Linked DNA regions of Homo sapiens: regions 1, 2, 3 and 4 are each linked to region 5. Evidence: promoter capture Hi-C in human tissues and cell types (Jung and others, 2019). All regions are on one chromosome and are shown on one strand. Each heading gives the region's core, a stretch centred on a gene start or on the middle of the fragment in contact. The rest is flanking DNA. Distances are from core to core; before and after follow the strand shown.

The links. The method cuts DNA at HindIII sites, captures the fragments that hold promoters and counts their contacts. A contact is called where the count stands out against the background at its distance.
Region 1: a fragment that was not itself captured here is called in contact with the fragment with the promoter of LRP1B in region 5 in 1 of the 25 tissues and cell types used here (dorsolateral prefrontal cortex).
Region 2: a fragment that was not itself captured here is called in contact with the fragment with the promoter of LRP1B in region 5 in 1 of the 25 tissues and cell types used here (dorsolateral prefrontal cortex).
Region 3: a contact is called between a fragment that was not itself captured here and the fragment with the promoter of LRP1B in region 5, in 1 of the 25 tissues and cell types used here (dorsolateral prefrontal cortex).
Region 4: a contact is called between a fragment that was not itself captured here and the fragment with the promoter of LRP1B in region 5, in 1 of the 25 tissues and cell types used here (dorsolateral prefrontal cortex).

What each region holds. Positions count from the first base shown.
Region 1 is chr2:140,973,421-140,977,312 of GRCh38, forward strand. The region is part of intron 18 of LRP1B (LDL receptor related protein 1B); the gene reads right to left. Among named protein-coding and RNA genes, the nearest start is that of MIR7157, 390 kb to the left of the region's middle. The HindIII fragment of the contact is 6,569 bases long and covers 1-3,892 here.
Region 2 is chr2:141,056,558-141,060,504 of GRCh38, forward strand. LRP1B (LDL receptor related protein 1B) reads right to left here. Exons shown (of 91, transcript NM_018557.3): 9 at 2,326-2,497. Among named protein-coding and RNA genes, the nearest start is that of MIR7157, 470 kb to the left of the region's middle. The HindIII fragment of the contact is 5,701 bases long and covers 1-3,947 here.
Region 3 is chr2:140,885,363-140,888,965 of GRCh38, forward strand. It overlaps LRP1B (LDL receptor related protein 1B), which reads right to left. Exons shown (of 91, transcript NM_018557.3): 24 at 776-973. Among named protein-coding and RNA genes, the nearest start is that of MIR7157, 300 kb to the left of the region's middle. The HindIII fragment of the contact is 4,328 bases long and covers 1-3,603 here.
Region 4 is chr2:140,858,702-140,862,424 of GRCh38, forward strand. All of the region lies in intron 27 of LRP1B (LDL receptor related protein 1B), which reads right to left. Among named protein-coding and RNA genes, the nearest start is that of MIR7157, 270 kb to the left of the region's middle. The HindIII fragment of the contact is 5,102 bases long and covers 1-3,723 here.
Region 5 is chr2:142,129,152-142,133,002 of GRCh38, forward strand. It overlaps LRP1B (LDL receptor related protein 1B), which reads right to left and starts at 1,865. Exons shown (of 91, transcript NM_018557.3): 1 at 1,497-1,865. The coding sequence starts at 1,578. RefSeq lists an enhancer at 1,733-2,932. The HindIII fragment of the contact is 3,160 bases long and covers 785-3,851 here.

The sequences.
Region 1 (3,892 bases), core at 1,372-3,871, 1.2 Mb before region 5:
GATGGGGGGGTAGAGAGGACCTCACTCATGTACATATTTTGAAATGTGTGGATAAGGGAGAATCAGAAGACTATCAAAATAAAACCTAAGAGAACTTTTGAAATGTAAACATTGGAAATATCCCTAAAAAGCCAACTTGTTTATAAGAAAAGCTTAGGCAGCATGTTAATTGACTGAAAACTCAACATGTCAGTTACATGATAAGGCTGTCGTCCAAGATTACTTTAAGAGAAACCTAGAAGCTAAATAACTAAAGGTAAAAAGCCCAGTATGATCTGTTGTAAAAAATACCAAATTTCTACCACATGAACTTTTTACATTTTAAAACTTGTGATAAAAATACATAACATAAAATTTACCATATTAACCATTTTAAGTATAGAGTTCAGTAACATGAACTATATTCATATATTTCTGCAGAAGATCTCCAAAAATTTTTCATCTTGCATATTTGAAATTCTATACACATTGAATATTAATCTCTCATTTTAGGCTATTAATTTTAATAAGATTATTAAAATTCAAGTGAATGAATAGCAGGGCAATTGGTAAGAAAAGCCCCTACAAACATAGTCATGTAAGAAAAAAGCTGAAAGAAGTGGTGTGTTTAACCTGTAAATCAGAAGAGTTGCTTGGACATGATGGTGTCTTTAGTTATCTCAAGAGCCAGATTGTGGACAAAGTTATTGATTCCATGTAGCTTCAGATGACAGCACAAATATCAGTGGGTAGAATACTTAGGAAGGCAGATCTTAGCTCCATGAAGAAAGAATCTTCTGACATTGCTTACTGCCCAACAGTGGAATTAATTACCCTCTGAAATGTTGAGTTATTTCTGAAAATATTTAAACAATCAGTAGGTAAGCACTTCTGGGAACAGTTTTAGAAGAATTCCTATATTGGAAAAGAGATTAAGTTACAAAGCATTTTATTCAACTACAACAGTCTCTAATTCTGTGAGAATAAGCAACTATGAGTGAATGGGACTGATATCCAACTGAAATCTACTAACACATTCTGCAACTTTGCACACACAATTTTCAGTGCTTCCGTCTCCTTATTTATACTGTGAAAACTAAAATAACTTTTATTATTCTTTCTAAATGTTCATATATTGAATAAACATGTATATGTTTGTACTAGTAGGTGTGTACAAACCTGCTTTAATAGGAGATTAGAAGGGAGAAAGGAAGAAGGAAAAGAAGAGAGACAGAGAAACAAAATGAGTCAGTTAAAAAACAAAAGCATGTAATAGTGAGATTCTTTCTTTCGCCATGGCCCTGGCCCACTTAGATCCAATACTAAGGACAAGGAGACACCAAGTATCCCCACGTTCTACAGAGAGAAACCGATATTTGGAACCATTTCATATAATAGGGGAGTACTGCACAAGTCAACCTTCTGGAGAGACCAGTGGACCAACCTGTGGAGAGATCCCCAAATGCAAGAGAAGGACAGACTCCATGAGAATCATTCATGAAATTGTGTGGTTCCTGAGAAGGCACTGATGAGATGTTTTTTCTGCAAGTGTTCTGGCCCTTTTACCTGTATCTAGAGAAGAACAAAGAACTGGAGAGTGATCGCAGGCCCAAGGGATAGGCCATTAAGAGAGCAGCCTGCTCACAACATTTGGGGAAAAAAATTAAAAAAAGTGGACTTAGCAAAGACAGCAAACCTTCTCTTGTTACGTCAGTAATGCAACCAAAAGGGCAGCCCACCAAGCAAGGGGATTCTAGCAACTTAAGGCTATGAGATATACATCCTGTGGTGAGAATGAGAAGTTATGGGGAATAAAAGAAACCTAGATCTAGATATGCAGGGAACCCTGAAGAAGGGAAAAGAAGAGAGAAGAAATGAAAAGGAGGAAGTTCAGGGAATCCTAAAGAGGGATGAGACTCAAACCTCTCTGAAGATCTCACACAGAAGCCTCTCAATAGAGTTGCATTTCTCATGTGTCAGAGGATTGTGAAATTTACAGCAGCAGAAAGGAAGTTTCCTCTAGACCTGCTTGAAAAGATGTTACTCATTTCCTCCATGTCTCCTCTCTGCCTGAAGAGCTAAAGTTATATAAGCAGGACATAGTTTCCCCCCATTCTTAGAACCTGAAGTCTGGCCAGCAATGAGGGAGGAGAAAGCTTTGACTAAGATATAATATTGGTGTTTCAAAATGGGTTGGAACAAGTTATAGAAACTAAAAGTCACCAGACTCATTGTGTGGTGCAAAGATATTATTAAGGAATGGCAAAGGAGTTGAAAGCAGTGCTGGACAATAATTATATTTCATGTCAATATTCCACTGGATTACTACTCCTCATTATATGGTTACACACATATGCAGGTTTTTTCTTAGAAAATAAAAAATATTATACTTAATCAGGAACTTTGCTTTTCTAATAATCTTGTGTAAACTATCTTTGATACAACTTACCACTGATTTAACTGGGTAAAAATTCCATTTTGATAGCTGAAACTCTTCCTTATTTCTCTATTTTTCTTTCTATTTACTTATGTATTATTTTTTTGAGGCTGGGTCTCACTCAGGTTGTCCCAGGCTGGAATGCATCATGGCTCACTGCAGCCTCAACCTCCTGGGCTCAAGTGATCATACCACCTTAGCCTCCCAAGTAACTGGGACTACAGGTACCCATCACCACCCCTGGCTAATTTTTTTGTATTTTTTGTAGAGATGGGATCTGGCCATGTTTCTCAGGCTGGTCTGGAACTTCTGGGCTCAAGTGATCCACCTACATCAGCCTGCCAAAATGCTGAGATAACAGGCATGAGCCACCATGCCCGCCTACTCTTCTCTTCCTCTCTTCTTCTCTCTTCTCCTCTCCTGTCCTGTCCTTTCCTCTCCTCTCCCTACCCCCTCCTCTACTGTCCTCTCTTTTCTCTTTTCTTGTAATTTTGTAAGATAACAAGATTACAAGAGCATTTACAAGTAAGACTACAAGTACAAGAGACAAAATCCTACTATCTACATGGTTATAAAAGATCAATATCCATAAAAATGAGTAATGTTAACTTTGCAAACTTCAGTAGATTTTTATTTCTACTCCATTGAACTATCTTTTTTTTTTTCCTTTTTTTTTTTTTTTTTTTTTGAGATGGAGTCTCACTCTTGTTGCCCAGGCTGGAGTGCAGTGGCGCGATCTCGGCTCATTGCAACCTCCACCTCCCGGGTTCAAGCTATTCTCCTGCCTCAGCCTCCTGAGTAGCTGGGATTACAGGCATGCATTACCACGCCCCACTAATTTTTTTGCTGTTTTTAGTAGAGATGGGGTTTCACCATGTTTGCCAGGTTGGTCTCAAACTCCTGACCTCAAGTGGTTCACCTACCTCAGCTTCCCAAAGTACTGGGATTACAGGTGTGAGCCACCACACCCAGCCTGAACTACCTTTCAATCTGCTAACAAACTTTAGGTAATTTCCAAAGTTGAAGGCTTCTAATGAATTAGGTACTACCAACTTACATTAAGGTACATTTATTAAAACATAATAAATATAAACTATAATGAGATACTTGGAAGACAGAACAAGCCAAAGATTGTTAAAGTTTAAAAAGAACAATCATACTTGACTATAAATTGTCTAAAGGACAAAACATGTCATTGTTTGAAACATTATCATGTTTAATCATGAAATGCCCTTATATTTAATATAGTAATTTGAGGATGGTGATATGGCTTGGCTCGTCCCCACCCAAGTCACATCTTGAATTCCCACGTGTTGTGAAAGGGACCCAGTGGGAGGTAATTGAAACATGGGGGCAGGTCTTTGCCGTGCTGTTCTCATTATAACGAATAAGTCTCATGAGATCTGAGGGTATCATTAGGGGGAGTTTCCCTGCCCAATCTCTCTGTCTCATACCACCCACCTAAGATATGACTTG
Region 2 (3,947 bases), core at 74-2,573, 1.1 Mb before region 5:
AGTGAGCTTCATGCTGCTAAATCCTATGGTCAATTGGATTTAAGAAGCTTCATCTCAGTCTCTTCTTTTGGTTTTTCCTATTCTTTTCAGCTTATTGCTGGAGCATACCAGTGTCCATTATTTGGAATGCTTATTTCTCCATTTGTGATTACTGCCTTGGTGTTCACATCCATAGTCATGGCTTTAAATGTGACCTGTCTGTCAATGACTCCCAAATTGGTATCTCAAGCTTGGACTTCCCCCTTCAACTCCAGAGTTGTATATTTAAATATACCCTTGATATTTTCACTTTAATTTGTAATAAACATTTAAAGTAACTCATGAAAATTAAATTTGCTATCTTTGTCCTAAACTCACTCCATGCTTAGTTTCCCCATCTAAAAAGTAACTAAATTATTCCAACTCCTCTAGCTAGACCACTGTCTGATTTATACTCCACCTCTAATGTATCAGAAAATCCTATCGGCTCTATATTTGCCTATATTCTGAATTTCACTACTTCTTACCACTTTCACTGCTGGATCTTGATCCAATCCACCATCCTCTGTAACCTTCCAACCTTCTCCTCCCTACTACCTATTATCAACAGAGTAGCCATATTGGTTCTTTAAAAATGTCAGTCATACCGTGAGATTTTTCTGTTTAATGCTTTCTAAGGACTTCCCATCTCACTAAAAGTATAAGCAAAAGTTTTTTATAATAGTCTACAGAGCCCTACTTGTTATGGTCCTCCTTTGTTTCTCCAGCCTTATTTCCTACTTCTCTTTTCCTTGTTCGTTCTGCTTTAGACACACAGGTATTCTTGCCACTCCTTGAACAGTCTAGACATGTTCTCTCCTCATGGCTTTTGTGCTTGTTCATCCCACCACCTGCAATGTTGTTGCCCAGATATCTCTGATATGGTTTGTCTGTATCCCCACCCAAATCTCATCTTGAATTCCCACGTGTTGTTGGGGGGGACCCAGTAGGAGGTAATTGAATCATGGGGGCAGGTCTTTCCCATGCTGTTCTTGTGATAGCAAATAAGTCTCATGAGATCTGATGGTTTTAAAAAGGGGGGTTTTCCTGCACAAGCTCTCTGTCTGTGGCTATCCACATAAGATGTGACTTGCTCCTCCTTGCCTTCTGCTGTGATTGTGAGGTTTCCCCAGCCATGTGGAACTGTAAGTCCAATTAAACCTCTTTCTTTTGTAAATTGCCCAGTCTTGGGTACGTCTTTATCAGCAGTGTGAAAACCGATTAATACAATCCCCATGCCTTTCTCCTTCAAATACCTCAAGTCATTATTCAATGTCATCTTTTCCATGGAACTTCTTCTGACTCTTCCATATAAAATTGAAGACTGCTCCCATTTCTGACATCTTTATCCACCTTACTTTCTTGATTTTCTCTATAGCACTTATTACCTTCTAATATAATACATAATTTACTTAGTTATTTTGTATCATAGCTTCTCCACTGGAGTGTAAACTCATAAAGGCAAGACTATTTTGTCTGTTTTATTCACTGCTCTATTCACAGTATACATAGAATAGTTCCTGGAACATAGTAGATTGTCCATGAAAAATTAATGAATGAATAAATCCTAATATTAAACTCTAATAAGGCCATCTACAGAATTTTAAATTTGAGTCTGTTGTAAACATATTTGTGACAATGTACAGCCGTGATTAGATATATGTTAATGCTTAGATAATTCTAGGCTAGTTTTAATTTGAAATACAAGTATAAAATACAGTAAAAATTTTTGCTGGTGGCTTTTTATATTCTCTTTTTTTATGTATGATTGAACCTAAATTGTATTGATGAACAGCATCACTAATCTCCTGTAGAAACAACTGGTTTGTTTTTCTGAGAAAAACTGCAGCCTTCTCATTGAAAATTACTTTTTAATGAATATGTGTTAAAGAACAATTGCAATGTTAAGTTAGGAGAGCCCAATGACTATAATAAACACTGGACAGATACTTCAAGGCAGTCACCTGATTTTAAATTTGTCTACCAAAATGATATTTAAAAGGAAAAAATAATAACTTTAGCATCTGGGTTTCCTGTCTACATTCATCACGACTGAAAGCCCCTTCCTGAATCTAAATCTAGCTATCATTTCAATTCTATCATAGAAACGATTCACTAGAAACTGAACAATCTGTCATTTAGACTTGTGACGGGAGCTCTATTCCATTTAACAAGCAGACATGCCTACTTTTGCTGTCAAAGCAGAGAATTTATGACTCACTCACTTCAACACCATACAAAAGCACAAGGACTATATCCCCATTCAATCTACCATTAGGAAGGTAATAAAGAAGCTTTCCCACTTACCTGTTGGTTGAGTTCTTTTTTGATAAATTCGGATTCCCCAAGCATTCTCAATTTTAATTAATGAGTGAATATCAGTCCCATTAAATCGGTTTATCCTTACGATATTGTAGTTATCAGAATTGGTTGCATACAAATAATCTTCAAACACAGTTATACCATAAAGATGTCTAACCTATAAAGAGGGCAAAACATAACTATGATTTTTAATTATGTAGCTTGCAATTTGAAAGAAAAGCTGATTGCTATTTACTAGTATGGAAAATGGCCACAGCAGAAGAACCGCAAGGATGTTATTTACTTTTTCTCAAGGAGTTCAACATTTCCCTGATTAAAACTTTTTTTTCTGGAGAAGAAAACATTATGCAGTAGTGTTTAAAACAGTTCCAAATGTAGGGACAGAATTGTATTCATATGACATTAAGAGAGCATATTTAGTAGTTATTTTTCAAAGGCTTGTGAGAGCAAGACTTTCAAGCATATTCAATAATATGCCTGTGACACTGTTATACATAATTTGAGATATTTTAAGGGCTACTTGTTTATATAATAATGGATATTTAGAAGCTGCAAAAACATAGCTCTCCCTGTGAAAAGACTAATGAGAAAGCACCTCCGAAGATTTGTTTTATAAATTCAAAATCCAACTTTTTGGTCCCAATCTATGTTTAGACTACCACTTGCTCCAGCACAGAAAGTAATATATAAAGAAATCACATATTTGCAATCATTGTAAATAAATGTCAACATTTCACTCAGAAATTTCATTATTTCTAAAGCCAATTTATCATAGGAAATAGAACAGTTTCTTTTGAGAATTATGATGTTTATTGCTATCCATATACTTAGTTAACAGTCCAGCTCTTCTCTTTGGCAAAGGTCTTAGAGTTTGTGGGGAGGAATGGATATCTTGAACTTAGAAAGTTTTCCCCTGGAGCAAAAAGAAGAATACATGTGCTGATTTTCTGAATAAAAGGCACATGCTAGGCACCTTGCCTTTGGCTACTCATTTACTTAATTTAAATGGTTCTGTTCCAGGGTAAAGTGAAGTTGCCACTTGATTTGCTGTAGAGATTTTGTTGAAAAAGCATCTGTCACTACTTTCGGCATTATATTGCACACTTTTAATACACAGATTTGCAGTTAAAGAGAATTTGAAAAAGTATGTGCGGTTTGATTATAAAAATACTTATAGAACAAAATCACAAAATTTTCTATTTTAACCAGAAAATCTTGCCAGTTCTATAGTTTAAACAAAAACATTTGATTTATCTTTTTAGCATATATGACTCATTACTTCTATTTCTGGTCTTCTTGTATGAGACACGACTAAAAAAAGACTGGCTTTACATGTCGTTTTTGGGTTTTATCTCATTTCTTCATGCTTAGGTCGGACATAAAATATAAGAATGACTAGGGAGAACTATTCCATGTTATAGCCCGAATAGTTTTTTTGTATGTACATGTTACTCCACAGTATGGACATGTGTTGTATTTATGTGTGGGTCCAGGCATATGTGTATTTACTAATATCATTTTCCACCTAGCTGACATCAAATTTACTAAAAATATCTATGGTCCAATTTTGACTTGGGTAATACTTTTGTCCTACAAAAATTATAAGC
Region 3 (3,603 bases), core at 297-2,796, 1.2 Mb before region 5:
TTTTTTTTTGAGATAAAGTATTCTGTTGCCCAGGCTGGAGTACAATGAAATGATCTAGGCTCACTGCAACCTCCGCCTCCCAGGTTCACGCAATTCTCCTACCTCAGCCTCCCGAGCAGCTGGGAATACAGGCATGCACCACCACGTCCAGCTATTTTTTGTATTTATAGTAGAGATGGGGTTTCATCATATGGGCCAGGCTGGTCTGGATCTCCTGACCTCACGTGATCTGCCTGCCTCGGCCTCCCAATGTGCTGGGATTATAGGTGTGAGCCACCACACCCGGCTATTTATATCAAAGACTTTCTACTTAAGAAAGGGTTAGCTTAGCCAAAAGAGATAAGTCAAATTATGGCAAAAATATTTAGCTCATATTAGTCATCTTTGTAATACTTTCTTCATTTTTTTGAATTATGTTGAAAGATGGTAGCAAAATTAAAAAAAAAAAAAAAACAAGTTATTGTAACTCCTAAAAATGTGACTAATGGTATGTAACAACCAGTCTTTTTTTTTTTCTTGTAAATGCATTTCTTTGCCATCAGTCCATGGAAAAGTCCACAGTGGCAAATGGTGTGAACAGCACGAGCGTCACCACTTCCTGCCCCCAACAGGTGCTCACACAGATGCTCAATATCCCTGATTTTACATATATGAGGGAGGGGATAAAGGACCAAAGGTCAAAGAATAATCAAAATTTCTTCTAGTTATAACGTGTTCTTTGAATTTTCACTTAAAAAAGTAATCTAAACATTAAGAAAAATTATAATATATGTACCTCCACTTTCAGAAAGCTTTCCCCGGTATATTCTGTCTTCTACAACATCTGTCCAATAAAGTAAACTTTGATTGAAGTGAAAATCAAGTGCTATTGTGTTTCTCAATCCAGGAACAAGTAGACTATAGTCTCTTTTGTGAAGATCAATCCTTCTGATCTCATGACGAATAGAAAAGATGATGAATGCTTCAAAAGGATCTGAAATTAAATTTATTTTTAATAGGCTTATGAAAATGTAAACTCTGGTAATGAAATGCTTGGGATCAAAATATATTATTTAAAAGTATAATTTATTACATAATTCTCTGTCTTAAAACAGCAATTTCTTTTAATCCAAAATTTAACAGAAACTTGCAAAACTTAGGTTTATGTGTATTCACTAGAATAGGTATTAGGGAGTTTTTATTCCTTGGATTTACATATACCTGATACTGATTAAAGAATAGAAGAATTATTGCCACGCAAAGACAAAATGGAGGATTTTCTGTTTTTTTTTTTAGAATTTCAGCTGACAACTTAATGCTCAGAAAAGTCACCATAGAAATTGCTAAGATTTGGCTAAAACTAACTTTGCTACACTCTTAACTAACTATCCCATACTAACAGATCCATAGAGGAGAACTATCCAACAACAAAGAAAAAGAGATCTGTGAAGAAGTTGTTGGACTTATAGTTAGGGAGTGCTTCCATTAAGAGACAAGATGGCGGCTTCCTGCAGAGTCCAAAAAAATCATAACTATATCATTCCTCACTTGGTGTTTTTTAGCCTGAAACAGGCCTGGGTAGGGAGAAAGGAAAGAAGCTTTGAAAACGGATATGAGATTAAAGTTTCTTTTAGTATTATTTTTTGTGCTTAAAAGAATGTTTCAGTATCTGAAAGTTACTAAAATTATGTTATTTCAAAAATGTATCAACCCTAAACTAATTACTGTGAGACATACTGATGTATATTGTTGTGATCACTTAGATATTGCAGTTATTTATTGCACAGTATTGTTTTTGCTGTATGACATTATTGTGACAAGAGCTAACTGAAACAATATATCAAAAACAGGTACAGAATAGTTCCAAATAGCTCCCAATAAAACAAATACTCTTAAAATTTAATATCCAGGATTTAGCATTTTTAAAATAAAGAAAATGTTTGTGTTGGATGCACAGTTGTTTAAAAGAAAAATTACCTAATTTTGGATTAGCTCTTATGTTAGGTCTTTGATACAATTTGAATTAATTTTTGCATATGGTATGAGATAGGTTCAGATATCATTCAATTGCATGTGAAAATCTAGTCCTCCCAGAGCATTATTTCTTGGAAAGATGATTTTTCCTCCACTCATATTCAAACTTATTTCATACCATAGACAAAAACTAACTCAAACTGTATTATAGACTTAAATGTAAGAGCAGCAAAAATTCCAGTTCTAGTTGAACACCCCAGATAATTAAAAATGCATGTTCACACAAAAACTGGTGCATATTCATGGCAGCATTATTCATAATAACCAAAAATGGATATAATTCATATGCTCATCAACTGATGAATAAAAAAATGCTGTCTATCCACATGATAGATATATTATTCATCAATACAAAGAAAAGAATTACTTGTGTATGCTAAAACAAATGAAAACATTACACCAAGTGAAAGAAGCTAGTCATAAAACACATATTGCATGATTACATTTATATGAAATGTCCAGAATAGGCAAATCTTTAGTGGTAGAAAATAGATCAGTGGTTTCTAGGGCCGAGGGTAGGTATTAACAGGAAGTGATTGCAAATGGGCATGGGGTTTGTTTTGGGGTGATTAAAGTGCTCAAAATTAAATAGTTGTAATAGTTAAACTGAATTGTGCACTTTAAAAGAGTGAATCTTATGGTATGTAAATTATATCTCAATACATCTGTTATTTAAAAAATGTGGTAATGACTGTAAGAACTTGTAAAGGGCATAAAACTGTACAAATACTACCTTTAGCTCACTGTTAACAGTCCAGGTTCCATATATCATTAATTTTTTACTCATTTAGAGTCATTCCTATAACCCTCCTCAGATCTGAAAAATTTTCTATCTACATAAAGAAAACAAAGAATGCCAACAATTTAGTTCTGTTTCTTTTCTGTGCATTTGAGTTAGTTGAATAGAGAAACTATTATTAGAAAAATTAATGGAATAATATTTCAACTCAAAGAATTCAGAAAATAAAAATGAATTAACTCAAATTTGAAAATAATAACAAATATAACTACAGAAATTGATAAAATACAACAAAAGATATTACTAGCAAACCCAAAGCCATTTGTTTAAAAGAATAACAAAATATAGATAGATGACCTATGGCAGACTTGATTTTATATATATATACTTATACATATAAATATACATACATATATAAATTAACAACAGGAAGAGTAAAAATAGAAAATATAGAAAATAAAAAACAGATGAGTAAGATATGCATTTTAATAATACACTTGAAAATATGTAAAATAAGTCAATTCTTAGAGAAATGTGTTAGCAAAATTGACTTAAAAAGAAATAGAAGGACAGGTGCGGTGGCTCGTGCCTGTAATCCCAGCACTTTGGGAAGCCAAGGCTCGTGGATCACCTGAGGTCAGGAGTTTGAGACCAGCCTGGCCAACATGGTGAAACCCCGTCTCTACTAAAAATACAAAATTATCCAGACATGGTGGCATGTGCCTGTAATCCCAGCTACTCAGGAGGCTGAGGCAGGAGAATCACTTGAACCTGGGAGGCAGAGGTTGCAGTGAGCCTAGATCATGCCACTGCACTCCAGCCTGCGCAATAAAGTGAGTCTGTCTCAAAAA
Region 4 (3,723 bases), core at 559-3,058, 1.3 Mb before region 5:
CATTAGCGATTTTTCCTGATGCTCTCTCTCCCCTATCCCCACCCCTCGACAGGCCCCAGTGTGTGTTGTTCCCCACCATGTGTCCATGTGTTCTCAATGTTCAGCTCCCACTTATAAGTGCGAATATGTGGTGTTTAGTTTTCTGTTCCTGCTTTAGTTTGCTGAGAATAATGGCTTCCAGCTCCATCCATGTCCCTGCAGAGAGCATAATCTCATTCCTTTTTATGGCTGCATAGTATTCCATGGTGTATATGTACCACATTATCTTTATCCAGCCTAGTTAGATTTTCTTTTTTTCTGAAAATACAGGGTTTCACCATGTTGCCCAGGCTGCTCTTGAACTTGTGAGCTCAAGTGATTTGCCTGCTTCGGCCTCCCAAAGTGCTGGGTTTACCAGTGTCAGCCATCGGGACTGGCCTAGATCTTAATATAGTAAATTGTGGAAGCAAATAATTTAAGCAACCTGCAAGTATTTGAGATTCACCTCCACCATGCTGCAACATGTTTTTGAGGGTATTTCTTTTTGACAAAAAAGAAAAAAAAAACCTTTTATTAATCATGTGAAAAGTATTCCCCATAATTCTAATTGAAAATATTAATAGTCCTATATGAAATCCCTCATCCTTCAGGTTTTGTAAGTGATACTTTGTCCTCTAAGGAGTGAATTAGTGAGGGAGTATCAATAATATTCTTAAAATATAACATTTTTTATTGTGAAATAAGCTTATCCTGTTTTCTTATAGATGTTGTCAAGAAAAGTTTAATTTTCTATAGACATATTTTTCTGATGCAATTGGAGGCACTTAAATCATTTCGATGTTAAACTACTTTTTGAGAAACAGCTTGCAATTTTCCTATAATGGACAGTGGGATTTTAAAAAAAATGATTTTAAAAGTTAAAGAAATAATTTATTTTATTATATTATGCTAGAAAATGTGCCAAGTGTTTTATAAGCATTATTTTATTTATTCCTCTTAATGGTAACCTTTGTTTATGAAAATAAATTGCCTGGCCGTGTGCGGTGGCTCCCGACTGTAATCCTAGCACTTTGGGAGGCCGAGGTGGGCGGATCATGAGGTCAGGAGATCGAGACCATCCTGGCTAACACGGTGAAACCCCATCTCTACTAAAAATACAAAAAAATTAGCCGAGTGTGGCGGCGGACACCTGTAGTCCCAGCTACTCGGGAGGCTGAGGCAGGAGAATGGTGTGAACCCGGGAGGCGGAGCTTGCAGTGAGCGGAGATCGCACCCCTGCACTCCAGCCTGGGTGAAAGAGCGAGACTCCATCTCAAAAAATAAATAATAAATAAAAATTAAAAAAAAATTGCCTTCATTTTGCAAAGGCTAAACTTAACTTTGAGAAGGTAAAAAAGACTCAGTCAAGATCACACAAGTATTAAAAGGAGAACAGAAAGATTCAGGTTCCAGAGTCCAGGTTTTAACTACTACAGTACACAACCTCTCTATGTGAAGCAATTCATTCTGATTTATTCACTCGTTCATTCATGGGCCAATTGATGGATGTCTTATAAAACAGGGATGTGAAATGGAGACTGAGTTAGAGTATAACTGGTATGATTACATTTGATCTAATTATTGTTGTAACTGTGGAGAAACCTCTCAATGTCTTACTCATTCTCTCTTTTTCTGGGTTTTGATTCTTTTTTAAAAGGAAGTCATATTATTATCTAAAACAGTTTGTATATTTACTAGTTGCTATGTTTTCAAAATAAAATTTAAAAGGAGCAGTTGAGTCAGTAGCCTGACTTTGAAAGTAAACTAAAATGTTCCTGCAAAAATAGTACTATTTTTATCAACAAACATTTAAGACCCCTTTAAACCAAGTTCTGTTTACATGAAAAATAAGTTTCTACAAAAAGAGAAAAACATAATTGGTGAAAATCTAACAGATAAAGGGTTTGCAGCACTCTGTAATTAAAATAACAATCACATTCTTGAAAGATTTTTTTTTTTTAATTCCAATTAGAGCAGCTAAGGAAAGAAACACAAAAGAAAACAGAAAAACCCAGGGTGGTAGATTCTTGCTGGGTTTATGAGAAAATTTAACCCTGCACCTGGAGTGGTGATGAAGAAAACACCTTTGGGCTGAGTGAGGACACAGAGAAAAATGACATGGTAGATGGGTGGTAGAGAAGAAGCATACAAAAGAAGAGTTAGATTTCACTTTCTCCATGGTTACAGACAACTCCCTTACAGGGTGGGGGAGGAGAGTTTGGCGGCAATGTGTAAAACGAAGTAAGAGAATTGTGCATCTATCTATCTATCTATCTATCTATCTATCTATCTATCTATCTATCTATCTAATTTATCTAATTTATCTATTTAAGTTATTTAACAAACACTTTTAAAGTGCTTAGTACTTGCCAGGTATCTTCTAACTGCCTAAAAGAGACTAATGTGGCCGGGCGCAGTGGCTCACGCCTGTAATCCCAGAACTTTGGGAAGCCGAGGAGGGCAGATCACCTGAGGTCAGGAGATCAATATCAGCCTAGCCAACATGGGGAAACCTCATCTCTACTAAAATTACAAAAATTAGCTGGACAAGGTGGCACGTGACTGTAATCCAAGCTACTTGGGAGGCAGAGGCTGGAGAATCGCTTGAACCTGGGAGGCGGAGGTTGCAGTGAGCCAAGATCGTGCCACTGCACTCCAGCCTGAGAGACAGAGTGAGATTCCATCTCAAAAAACAAAGAGAAAGACTGATGTATTTAATCTTTATAACAATTCCATTTTACAGATTTACAAACAAGCAAACAAACAAATACTAATGTAGAGAAACAAACTAATACTAATGCACAAGAAGTCAGGATTTGACAAATTTGGAATTTGAACCCAAGCAATCTGGCTCTAGACTAAGCTGATTGCTATGAAGGTATTTTTTTTGGAATTTACTGTTTGACTGAACAATCTAGTTCTATTTAGTAAATTATATTTTGTAGTAAAAAGAGTTGAAAGTTATACTAATAGCTAATGTCAGACCTATTTAGGATCACGAGGACATATGCAAACAAACCCACTGAAATTGCTCTCACTAAAATTATCACTGACCTTTTTCCAGGTTGCCAAATCCAATGAATGCATTTATGTCTTTATTTTTATTGGCTTTTCTACAAAAGCAAATACTGTTGGCTAGTGTTAGCTTGAAACTGTTCCTTTTGTGTGTGTGTGTGCGCATGCACACGCTTTCTCTTTTTGTCCTGAAATCTGTTGGTGCCCTTTTTCTGAGCATTCTTCTTTGCCTTCCTTTTTAGTGTTGCAGTTTCCAAGGCTCTATCATTGCCCTTTTTCATTTTCTGTAATACTCTTAAGAAATCTTATCTACATTTTGCCTTCAATCTACAATTGAATAACTATGAAAGTTCTAGTTTTAGACCAAAGCTTCCTTCCTTTTTAGCCTTAAATATTCAACTGTATCCCAGAAGTATCTCAAATTCAGCACATTTCAAAGTTTAATTTTTCAGATAATCCTTTAAGTGAAGTGTCTGCAAATGATGGCCTAAAGGCTAATACTGGCCGGTGAGCAACTTGTTTGTACGGTTGGAAAAAAAAACCAAATGAAGAATACTATTTCATGGCACATAAAACTTGTATGAAATTCAAATTTCAGTGTCCAGAAATTAAGTTTTATTGGCACACAGCCACACTTATTCATTTCCCATATGACTGCTTTCACATTACAACTGCAGCAGAGTAACTGCA
Region 5 (3,851 bases), core at 615-3,114:
GAGAGCTGATTGTTCCAGATCAAAGACATCATCATTTCAAGGCGAGCTATGTGCTTCCATTTCATCAGTATAGTTTCCAACCATTCCACACCAACTTCAAGGCAAGTTGAGCAAGTTCAGAAGCTATGGTTAGGTGGCAATGATATGCTTAAAAGATTATCACCAATAAGTGTCAGATTTCCTAAAGGAACTCAGATTAGTCCCACCACTGGTAGAGGAAATAACACGTGTAGGTATGTTACAAAGGCTAGAATCTGGCTGCCAACAGCAGGTTGAATAGAAACACTGCAGTTCATTCCCCTGTTCTTTCCTATAATGAAGCAATATTTTTTGTCAATTCATAATCTGCTTCATGTAAATACAATAACTAAATCTCCCAATGCAACATTCTGCCTATTTGCTTGGCATTGGGATCTGGGTTTCTTTCTCTCTTTCTCTCTCTCTCTCTCTCTCTCTCTCTCTCTCTCTCTCTCTCTCTCTTATTTAAACTAAAAAGCTGAACTATACCAGTCAATATAAGCTCATTTTCTGATTTTAAAAAAATCTATGATACTTCTGATTTTACTTTAACCAGTTAACCATTCCAAGGCCAGGGCCAGTGCCCCAAATATTCATCTAGTATTTTCCTCCCTTTTTCACCAGTGCATCTGTTGTCAAAGATTATTAAACTCGCACAGGGATTCTTGATTTTCCAGATGAAAAGTTTATAGAATCCCGGCTTTTTCTAATTCCTACCTCCTTTCTCCTCTGCTCCCCATATCCATTCCCTTCTAAACTTCTACCATTCACCAGCTGCTTGGAGAAAAAGGAAAAGCAAAGCGCCAGACTGGAGAGAGGCACTCCAGGGGTGGGTTAGCCCCTCAGAGCACCTGGGCTGTGTCACAGACCCTCATAATCGAAAAGTCAATTTCAAGCAGGTGCGTGCGCCCGGAATCGTCCTAAAAGCCTCTCTGCTGATGACAGGACTCTGACCCCAGTCTGCCCCCAGGAAGGGGCTATAGAAACGAAAGGGGCCTGAATCGGCGCTTTCGCCGCTCCACGGACCTCGAATGCAGCAGGTAAGGAAGTTAACCTGGGAGCTAAGTTGAGGGCGGACACGCTTAACGCGGAGAACCTGGAGCTCGCAAAAGCTCGCAGTTGAGGGCCATCGCGGAGGGAAGTCTTTCGGAAATGCGAATTCTCATTCCAACATCTGCAGCGCTTAGAATTCGCGGACAGAAGCGCACAGCCAAGTGCACACACTCCCGGAGGGGACAAAATGGGGACCGGGAAACGGCCAAAGGGAAAAGCTGTGGGGGTGCCGAGGACTCAGGCACTTGGTTCAGAAATCCCGCACCGCACCTCTCACCCCCGCACAGGGCCAGCGCACGGTGGTCACCCGGTCCCGGGGAGCGGAGCTGCAAGGACTTAAGTTTCACACTCACTTATCTGCAAGCATCGCCCAGCAGGAAAGCCAAGGAAGTCAGGGGAGGGGAGCGGGGAGGTGTTCTCCTTACCTCGGTCGGCTCCCACGGTCAGCACCCTGGCAATCGGCAATAATCCCGAGAGAGTGAGTAAGGCGAGGAGAAACTCGGACATTGTGGTCGCCCGGTAAGGAAGCCTGCGCTGGAGACTGCTCGGCGGCACCTTCGGCCCGGCGGCGGCGGCGGCGGCAGGGGCCGCTTGGAGCCTGGAATCGAGCGGCGTCATTTACAAATGTCACTGGAAATTCTTCAGCTCAATGAGTCCAGCCAGTCAGCCTTCTCCTGCCTGGAGCAGGATGTGGAAGGTGGAGGGATGCGCGCGTGCGGGAGAGAGGAGGCAGAGCGTGTGTGAGCGCGAGCGAGACGCCCGTGTGTCTTGACTTTTCAATGCAGGGTACGTCTGATCTTACATCACGCAAGAGGGGCAGTGAGAGATGCCAGCGGATGGGAATTCACTGATTAATCACCGAATCCACCACACACCCCTTCGTCGTTCACATAAATCACATCTATTACTTAATAAGAGGCATTTAACACAACAGGAAAATACCACCGCGAACGGAGAGCGCCACAAATCACAATTATTTTAATCCCCTTGAAGGGAAAGTAACTCGAAGCTGGTTCTGTGGGGATTTGGGTCTTTGGAGAAGGGAGAGACTTCTGCATTGGCCTGAGCCAGCCAGGCGCCTACAATGCTCCGCAGTTCACAGCCAGCTGAGAACCCTCAGCCGAGCACAGGGCTGCTTCTGCAGGCAAAACAAAGCTTCTCCCTTCGTTCCTCGGAAGCTTCCTTCCCGGGAAGGAAGGACAAGCCAAGGAACAGAGCTTCTCTTAGGGAAATGGTTTCCTCGGCTCTACACAGAATCCCAGTACTTCCTGAATTGCACTTTTAACTTTTATGCTGAGCAGCACCTGGGGACAAAGAGGCAAAATTTAGTGACTCAGCAGAAACAGAAAGCAAAACAACCCCCAAAGTCATTAACCGTTGCGTAAGAAGGGAAGGTTAATGGAAAAGGCTATTGAGGTCCCCAGGCAGGGAACAATAAAGCAACGAATTGGCAGCGTTTTTCTCTGGGGTTCTGTCTTTAAAAGGGTACTTCGAGCCATTTTAAACAGGCTTTGAGGGTTTTGTTGTTTTTGTTTTGTGTTTTGTTTTGTTTTCCTTTTCCATATACTACAGGGGCGGTGTAAGAACTTTCCCGAGCCATCGGAGGCATCAACGGGAATCACTGGAATAATAATATTAGTAAAGTTGTTTTTATGACCACTTAAGTTTACAACATGATCATCCCAGTCCCTAAAATTTTAGTTTGCCATTACAAAGTGGCTACGGAATTAAAACTCAGAAATCTTAATAGTTGTAGACTTACTTTCTTCCTTGTAACATCAGGAATTCTCTTCTAAGAACAAGAGTTGAAAAGGTTTTATATTTAATATTTTGAAACTGGACATGAGTGGAGAGGAAAACTATGAGAAGGGAACAGAACTAAGGAAGAGAACGATTGAAAAGTGAAGGAAGATGCTTTAAAAGCTTTATTTACTTTGCTGTTTGAGACTTATAAGTGAATGCCAGCATTACTATCTACCTATTTATGAGAGTAAAATTATCCAGAAATATCTTTAGATGCTCCTTTGAAGCCATTAAAAACTGGACTAGATGAAAGAACACAGAGATGACTTTGCAGAACATTGTCAATAATCTGTGGATTTCACCTTTTTATTCTTACTCTGTGATTATAAATGTATTTTATGTCACTTTTTCCATGTTTTAAATTATAAAGTTTACTTTCCCTTGAAAATACAACCATTTTGTGTTTGAAATATGACTCCTACATTCAAAAGTGTATGCTTAATTTTTTTTTTTTTTTTTGAGACGGAGTCTCTCTCTGTTGCCCAGGCTGGATTGCAGTGGCGCGATCTCGGCCCACTGCAAGCTCCACCTCCCGGGTTCACGCCATTCTCCTGCCTCAGCCTCCGGAGTAGCTAGGACTACAGGCGCCCACGACCATGCCCGGCTAATTTTTTTGTACTTTTAGTAGAGAAGTGTATGCTTCTTTTCTTCTAAAGTTGTTACATGTCTAATTTTTCCTAGATGTTTTTATTATTTCATAATATAGTGTACAATATAGAATAAAAAGATTTTTTTACATATTTTACTTCATACTGAAAATTCACAAACTTTGAAATGAGTGGCAGAGTTTAAAGAATATGTGTGTGTGCGCGCGTGTGTGTGTGTGTGTGAGAGAGAGAGAGAGAGAGACAGAGAGAGATTTGAATGATGTGCCAAGTAATAAATGTTTCTTTCTCGAGGGTCCACAGACCTCTGTATTGTATGACAAACTTATTCACTGGGACAACGTAGCAGGTGTCTTTCTTACATGATCCCAT